2 separate regions of the Homo sapiens genome follow, and region 1 is linked to region 2. The links are contacts of gene promoters, found by promoter capture Hi-C in blood cells and fetal thymus (Javierre and others, 2016). All regions are on one chromosome and are shown on one strand. The core of a region is centred on a gene start or on the middle of the fragment in contact, and the rest is flanking DNA. Distances in the headings are between cores, read along the strand shown.

The links. Contacts are between HindIII fragments. The CHiCAGO score rates a contact against its expected background, and 5 or more counts as called.
Region 1: a fragment that was not itself captured here is called in contact with the fragment with the promoter of PRKAR2B in region 2 in 2 of 17 cell types (megakaryocytes and erythroblasts); the score reaches 15.0 in megakaryocytes.

The regions. Positions count from the first base shown.
Region 1 is chr7:106,943,412-106,947,706 of GRCh38, reverse strand. No RefSeq gene overlaps it. Among named protein-coding and RNA genes, the nearest start is that of PIK3CG, 80 kb to the right of the region's middle. The HindIII fragment of the contact is 658 bases long and covers 1,042-1,699 here.
Region 2 is chr7:107,042,834-107,047,071 of GRCh38, reverse strand. It overlaps PRKAR2B (protein kinase cAMP-dependent type II regulatory subunit beta), which reads right to left and starts at 2,367. Exons shown (of 11, transcript NM_002736.3): 1 at 1,858-2,367. The coding sequence starts at 2,164. RefSeq lists silencers at 1,974-2,268, 2,055-2,614. The HindIII fragment of the contact is 4,109 bases long and covers 1,089-4,238 here.

The sequences.
Region 1 (4,295 bases), core at 121-2,620, 98 kb after region 2:
AATAGTTATCTAAATTGTCAATTCAGGAACATTTTTGTGCAATATACAAAGGGTTCATTAGCCTACTCACAATGATTTTTGACATTGCCTTTTCTTTTTGTCATCCAGACCTACTCTGATATCTTCAGGTAAAGAGATGTAAAAAAGTTCTTTGGAGAAAATCTCAATTCTCTCACAACAGATAAGAAGATACTCTCCAGAGAAAGACAGCTGAGGGTTCTTGAGCTAATGACTAAAACCCCTAAGGCCACTTCTAGTTGGTTAATTCTGACCCCTGGGGGTTGGTTTCTGCAAACGCATCTACTTCAACACTAAGGCAGGACATGCATGACTATAAACTGGCTGGCCCTGCTTTTAAAAAAGAACCTTCACTGAACTGAAGCAAGAATGTGGAGCCATTCATTACCAAATTGAAGAGAAAAAGTGGTATTAAGAGGCACTTAAATGCAAAAGTGAACTCATTTAAAAAATAAAACAAAACAAAGGACTTCATAATGTACTGGCAATAATAATTACCCAGAAAAGGATGCATTATTTACAAAATCATAAAATGTCATTGTTTGTCAATTTTCTTCATAAAGACAAAAACTGGTAAATCACAGTACTTCTGTTTTTTTCTTTCTATCTTTCTTTTTTTTTTTTTGAGACGGATTCTCGCTCTGTTGTCGAAGCTGGAGTGCAATGGTATGATCTTAGCTCACTGCGACTTCTGCCTCCCAGGTTCAAGTGATTCTCCTGCGTCAGCCTCTGGAGTAGCTGGGATTACAGGCCCTTGCCACCATGCCCAGCTAATTTTTGTATTCTTAGTAAAGATGTGGTTTCACCAGGTTGGCCAGGCTGGTCTAGAACTCCTGACCTCAGGTGATCCACCTGCCTTGGCCTCCCAAAGTGCTGGGATTATAGGTGTGAGCCACTGCACCCGGCCCTACAGTACCTCTTTCATTAAAGCATCAAATATGTGCCAGGTATGTGCAAATGTACTGTTACATGGCCCATGTAACAGGAGAGAGTAGGATGGTGCCATTTAGCTCTGGGGAAGCTTATATTGGTAATAGATGGAATTAGTAAAGGTAGGAATCTTAACTTATAATTTTATTTTAAAAAGGCACAATAAGTATGAGAATGAAAAAAGATTCAGCATATGAGACTAAGGCTGCAAGGAATTCAGTATTTTTCTCATTTGTCCTAATACCTCATGGTAGAGAATAGGCCCTCGGGGAGCTAAATCTTTAGGTTTGTGAAAGACTGAGAGTTGAATTGCTGCTAATGCCAAGTCCCCAAAATAAAATAAGAAACTAGTTAGCTGAAATTCCTGAAGGTCTTTAATATCACCACAAAATACAGATCATGTGAAAGAGAGATTTTGCTCAAGAGCATCTTCTAAAAATCCTCAAAGAATACTTTCCCCATTATTTCTACTATTCAGCCATTGATTGATAGAACTGGCTGTAGCATAGAACTGTTTCTATGCAGTGGCATTTGATGAGTAGGGTCTCATTTGTGCAAATAGGGTAGAGGTAGGGAAACTTTCTAGTCCTAATACAACTGTGGCCAAGTGGAAGGCTTTGAGTATTTCTACTAGAAAATGTTGTTTCCTGGTTTGACCCCAGAAATTAAATGGTGGGCAACCCAGTAGATCTTAATCAAAACTGTGAGGCAAAATTTGTCCTTGGTCCATTCATCAACACTCTTTCAAGCTTTTTTTTTTTTTTGAGCACGTAGGCCAGGCATGATGGCTCACGTCTGTAATCCCAGCACTTTGGGAGGCTGAGGTGGGTGGATCACTTGAGCTTAGGAGTTCAAGATCAGCCTGGACAACAGGATAAAACCCTGACTCTAGAAAAAAATACAAAAATTAGTCAGGTGTGGTAGTGCGTGCCTGTAGTCCCAGACACCCAGGAGGCTGAGGTGAGAAGATTGCTTGAGCCCAGGAGATGGAGGGTGCAGTGAGCCTGGATTGTGCCACTGCACTCCAGCCTGGGTGACAGAGTAGGGCCCTGTCTCAATAAATAAATAAATAAATAAATAAATAAATAAATAAATAAAACACTTATTATGTGTCAGGTATAGGTACTAGGGATACCTGGTCCTAAACCTAGTGAAATGAATATTCTAATGAGAGAATAAAATAATGACTACAAATTTTGATGGACATTATTTGGGAAACAGACAGGGGAAAGAAAAAAATGGGAAATATTTAAACTGGGCTTTAAAGATGAAAAGGAGCTTAAGTTGGGCAAGATCTTAGTGGGTCCAAGAATCTGAGAAAGGCTAGTTGGAGTTTTGTAAGATAGAGGAGAGAAAGTATGATGAGGCTGGAACTGGTATCTTTTTACCTACCATTTCAGTCTCGCTCTCCACCTTCCGTGACCCAAAGCACAGTGTGTTGTCAATCATTCATTTATTCTGTCAATATGTAGGCACTATTCCAGCTGCTCAGAATAGGAGAGAGAACCAAACAGACCAAATTCCTGCTCATATGGCTCTTACATTGTAGTAAACCCCAGGACGTTGATTTGATTACTGTCTTCTGTAATGCTTGATGTGAAAGCTGGATATGTGGATGGAAAGAAATAGAGGTGAAGTGGGAGTTGGGGGAAGGAGGGAAACTTGATACAGGGTGGTCTGGGAAGGCTTTATGATAAGGTGACTATTGTCAGCTTTTCAAAATAGAAAAAAAAAGATATCCCCTATGGCCAACGGGATGTTAGTTGATTGGCTTAAGATGTTGCTTGTCCTTGGAGTATTTTATTCAACACTTGACACAAAGTGCATTGGGGTAGTCCATTTGCTCCCTAGAAGTGGTTGGAATGCAGACTAGGGGTGAATATGTATGGGAATTAGAGAAAGATTCCTGGAGAAGAGAGAAACAAATAAGGTTTTGACAGAAAGACAAAGGAAAAAATAATATTCCAGGCTGAGAGAACGACTTGAACAGAAGCCTCGAGGTATTAAAGTATGCTTTTATTGTGTAAGTTTTTTGTCACTGTGGGAAGAGGGAGTGGTGCATCTTTGTCAGTTTAGCCCGAAAACACACAGCACTTCAGGTATTTCAAGAAGAGGAAATGTAACGCAGAGAATAGGGTATGTAAGTGATGGAAGGGATAAGAAGTCAAACAGAGACGGTGAGGCAGCTCAGAGTTCAGCTGTACCAGGGAGCTGCTGCTTCCTCTAGGACTGGAGGGAAAGAAGGTGGTGCTACCACAGCCCAGGATCTGGGGCCATCTTGTGGAAGTGGGAATCACAGTAGACCTTCCTTAAGGGAATGGGGTCTATGAAGGAAGAGAATGTTCCGTGGGAACTGGGAACAAGCCAGGGGAGGAGGTCAGCGTTAAAGATGCTGACCTGAAGCAGACAGTGGGGCAGGATTCCGGCCTTTCCCCGACTCCTGCCTTCCAGTCTCCTGCCGCGGCACCCACTGGCCAACGCTACTCCAAAGCTAGCAAGAGGGAAAGGGAGCTTGGGAAGTGTAGTTTCTGGGGTACAGAGCAAAGGGAGAAGGGCAGGGAGTGGATGTGAGAGCAAACAAGCAAATTACCACCAAGTGGATGAGGGGAGCAAAAGAAGGAGGGCAGGGCAGTTGAGATTCAGGAAATGAGGCTGCAAGGGAGGGGTAGATCAGAAACAAATCATGGCAGCCTTTGGTAGCTAAGGAGATTGGGCTTTATTTTTTGGCCACAGGGAGCCATAGTAGGATTTTTAAGAAGATATTAATTTTTATGAGTTTTTTAAATTATAAAAATAATATACATTCATCATAAAAACATTCTAACAGTACATAAATTTAAAGACAACAGTAAAATCAAGGTTCTCAACCTCCTTCTAGACTAACTACCTCTCCTCCCATCCCACTCTCCACAGGTTAGCAGTTTGGTACCCCCACCGACATTACTCAAGAGTATACAAACAACACATATGCACATGCTCTGCTGTGTATAATAAGACTCATTTATTATCTATATATGCATACTATGACCCCATTTATGTATTTATATATATATACAAAGTATATATAGATACACAAACAGGGTCATAGTATGCATATTTATATACATAAATACATAAATGGGTTCATATTAAACATTCCCTTCTGTAACTTTCTTTTTTCCACTAACAATACATCTTGGACATTTTCCATGTCAATACATATAAATATATGCATCTATCTTAATCTTATTAATGGCTATATAGTATTCTAGGGTATGGATTTTATTTAACTAGTGCCTTATTAAGGGGCATTTAGACTGTTTCCAGTATTTTGTTCTGATGAGCAATGTTTCAGTTAACAACTTTAT
Region 2 (4,238 bases), core at 1,118-3,617:
CAATTTTTACAGCAAAGGTGCCTTGGAGAATATAAAGCCATATAAAATGACCCCTGCTGTTCAGAAGTTAACGGCTTATTTCTTCACTACAAAATGAAAATGGAATCTTTTCTGTGCGCAATATATTGTTATAAGGAGAAAATGCAATCATCAATGCAAAGTACTTCAACAAATGCATTATACAAACAAAATATTTTGATTATATTAACAACATATCATACAGAATATATATATATATATGGTCTTTACCAAGCCCCTTAGTTCCTAGTTTTCTCCAACCTGGGAAAAGAGTCCTTTTTTTCCCCTTTGTGTGTGTGCACGAACATGTCAGGAGCATAAAAGAAGTATTAGATATCTCTGCCCTTTCTGTCATCCGTTACTGGCTGCTGCTTCTTACCTATTTAAAACATGCATTCTTTTCTCTTTCTCGTTTCTGGTAGGAAAAGCTTTTGATTCGATTCTTGTGCAAAAAGAATTATTAAGACTATGTTTATCCTCTTGGGGAAACATTTAGAAGTCCAAAATTAAAATTGTAAGTAACAAGCTTCACTTTTATCTTCACAGCGCACTAATTTCCAGGGTTTCTGGGATTCTTTTGGAGAAACTAAAAATACACTAATTTTATAATCCATTTCAACATGTAATCCTGCAAAGAAAAGAAACATCTTCCTAGGAGCATACACAAGGAAATGAAATGACACTTTTAAATGTTTTCATTTTATGAAATACACTGCGGACACACAAACCACAAGCAGTGTAAATAAATAAAAGCTGGTGCAATGCTGCATGCATGTTTGCCTTACACCACAAAGAGAAAACACTTGCACACTGCACTCCATGGTATTTTAGCTTGGGTTGCCATAAAAATGAGATTTGGGCATGTTGTGTAATACAAGGGGCTGTAAATGAGGGTGTGTGTCTGGGTGTGTTAGGGAAAGAGGGTTGTAAGCAGAAGGGGTGGGACTTGCCAGGAGCAGCTATTTGAGAAAATTCCTTTTTCTTTCCCATTCATTCTTTCTAGCTCTACTGTCTGGCACAATCCTTACAATTACTCACTGGCTTTTCATTCTAAAGACAACCAACAAGCTTTCAGAACTTCCTACAGTGTTTTTCTCATACACTTTTAAAAAAATAAAGCACCAAATCATTCAATATGTCTTTTATATAAAAAGCAAACCATTAACCCATTTCCTCGTTCCAAAGACCCCCGTGGGTTTCAGACTAAATAGAATCCTTTGTTACGTGTCCAAAAATAACACAACACGGTATTGGTAAATTGGAAAATAATAGATAACTCTTATTTCCAAGAATGTCAGAGCTACTGGCCATAAATTTTGTTCTGCCCCAGTGAGTCCAATTTCATGCTTCTTTTAGCGAATCTACCGTCCTAACAACAGTAAAGCCAATCATATTAAACACGGTTCTCCTTTTCTCTTTCGACATTCCATTAATAAATACAAGGGCTGAAAGAAGACGCCAAGCGGGCCAGTTTCTTTATGCACAATGGTATCCTCTAAGCGAAATACCTCCAACCACAGCGAAAGTTGTCTTTCTAGCAGATGCCCACCCCAACCGGCCCAGGCAGAGGGGGCAAAGGGTAAGAGGGAAGCGTAACATCCCAGCTCTCCCACCTCTAGAGGAAGGGAAGAGGGTATGACAGAGAGCGGAGTAGGAAGGTGGGCGAGTGGGAGAGACAGAAATGGATGCTGAGGGGGTGGGCGAGATGGGAAGGTAGGGAAAGGTGGAGAATGCGGGGAGAGGTGGGTGCGCAAAGCGGCAAGATCCGAGAGCACAGCGGGGAGCGGTGGGGGGCAGCGAGGGGATCCGGGGGCGCGAAGTGGGGGGTCTGGTCCTCACCATTGAACGCCCCTGCGTCCGCGGGCGCCGCCTCCTCCTCCTCCCCGTCCTCGGAGTCGGACTGCATGGGCTCCTCGGCGAAGTTGACCCCCTTGCTGGGGGTGCCGCCCCCGGCAGCGGCGCCCAGGTCCCCCCAGGTCCTGCCCTCATGGCCGAAGCGCGCGGTGCCTTTGCGCTCGTTCTCCTGCTGCAGGCGGGTGAAGTGCTGCAGCGCGAACTCCAGCAGGTCCGCGGGCTGGTGCCTCAGCACCTCCACCGTGAAGCCCTGCAGCAGCTCCGTCAGTCCCGCCGGGATCTCGATGCTCATCCTGCCTCCGGGGCGGCAGGCGCCTGGGCGCCGCCCTCGCCCCCTCCCCGGCACGGCCTAGGGCCCCGCGGCTGCCGAGCGAGCGCCTACGGCGCTGGCGCGCTACCGGCTGCGAGCGCGGCGCACTGGGCCCCGGCGGCCCGGCTGGCCCGGCCCGCGGCTCCCGGCGCGCGTCTGCTCCGTGTGGTGGCGGCGGCTGAGCGAGCGCGGCCCCGGGAGGGCTGGCAGCATCTCCTGCTCCTCCCGCTCCAGCCGCGGCCGCGCCTCTCCCCCGCCCGGGCGCCCCGCCCCCGCCCCGCCGCGGTGCGCGGGAGGGGGCGCAGGAGAGCGCGCCCACGTGACCCCCGGAAACCATGGCAACCTCCGCTGGCTGGCGCCGCGCACCCGCCTGTCAGACCACCGCAGGGCTGCGCGCCCGGGCCGGGAGAGGCGGAGGGAGGCCCAGCGAGGCCGCCTTCGTGTCCACCTGTCCGCGCGTCCAGGAGCGGGCTGGCCACTCGCCCCGCTTCCCAGGCGTCATTCGCCATGGTGAACCCCCGCAGAGGTGGTGCCAGGAGATTTGTCTTGAAACTTCAGCCTCCACCTTAGTAGTGGCATTTTATTTTCCTTCTAGAATCTAGTTGCATGATAAGTGTTGCTAATGTCCTTTGTTTAAAGTCTTATGGTGGTACTGGTTCTCTTTTGGACAAAGAAATGCTACCCCATCTTTGTGACGTCTTTCTTTTTCTTCCCCACATTTTATCCAGCCTTTCCCGATCCATCCTGTTTATTATGTTTCGTCTTACTGATGCTATTCCGTTGTGCACTCCACGCATTTACTATTTATTGAGACAAAGGCACCATTTATTGAGAGGCACCTATCAAAGTTAGTTGATCTCTTTTAAATAGGATAGTGCAGGATGAGGCGCTTATTATTTTGAAACTTTCCTTTATGCTTTGAATGATTTTTGACTTGTATGTCCAAAAATTGAAATACTTCAGTATAAAGAAAAATAGAATTACTAATGTGTGCTTTTAAAGTAGAAGGCTTTGACTTTGAAATGAGGCTTACTTTGCAAATGTTTACAATTTTGAAGTAGAGAAAATTGTCTTTTGTCAATTAAATTCTATTTAAGTACGCATACTTCATTTTCTACAATTATCATATCATTGTAAATAAAATATTTCAAGAGCAAGCTCACTTGGTTATTCTGATTTATCTTCCCACCCACGGAAGAGTAAACACATGACTGGGGAAACTCCAAGTCTAGAAATCAGAGATGTAACGAACTAGTCCCTCTTGTAAAAATGGATCTTGATGTTAACCCTTTGTTAATGATGCATCCTGTATTGACTCCATGAGCCAATGTATTTCTCTATTTTCATTTCTTAACAACTTTATAGTAATAATGTTACGTTGCTTTAAATATACAGTAGTTAAGTGCTTCTAATTGTGTCGAGCATTTTAAGAATTAAACTTTTGGCCGGGCGCAGTGGCTCACTCATGCCTGTAATCCCAACACTTTGAGAGGCCGAGGTGGGCGGATCACCTGAGGTCAGGAGTTCAAGACCAGCCTGGCCAACATGGTGAAACCCCATCTCTACTAAAAATACAAAAATTAGCGGGCATGGTGGCAGGCACCTGTAATCCCAGCTACTCAGGAGGCTTAGGCAGAAGAATCGCTTGAATCCAGGAGGCGGAGGTTGCAGTCAACCGAGATCGTGCAGTGCCGTTGCACTCCAGGCTGGGGGACAAGAGTGAGACTTCGTCTCAAAAAAAAAAAAAAAGAATTAAACTTTTATAAAATATGGTGAGCCTCACATGTCACCGGTTGGAGCACAATGTTAGTACTACTCTCTACCGTGTAAGCATTATTATTTTTACGGATCTGGTAATCTAAGATGCATGTGTATCACCTGTCTAAATTTGTGATAATATTTGTATTAATTATGATAAACACTGCTCACATGTGGCAGAAAATGCGAAATACAATAGCTTAAGATTTATTTCTCTGGAATCTAAATGTGGGCAGTTCAGAGTTGGTATTGAGAGGTGATAGCGTGCTGGCAGTCCTCACAGCCCGCACTCGCTCTT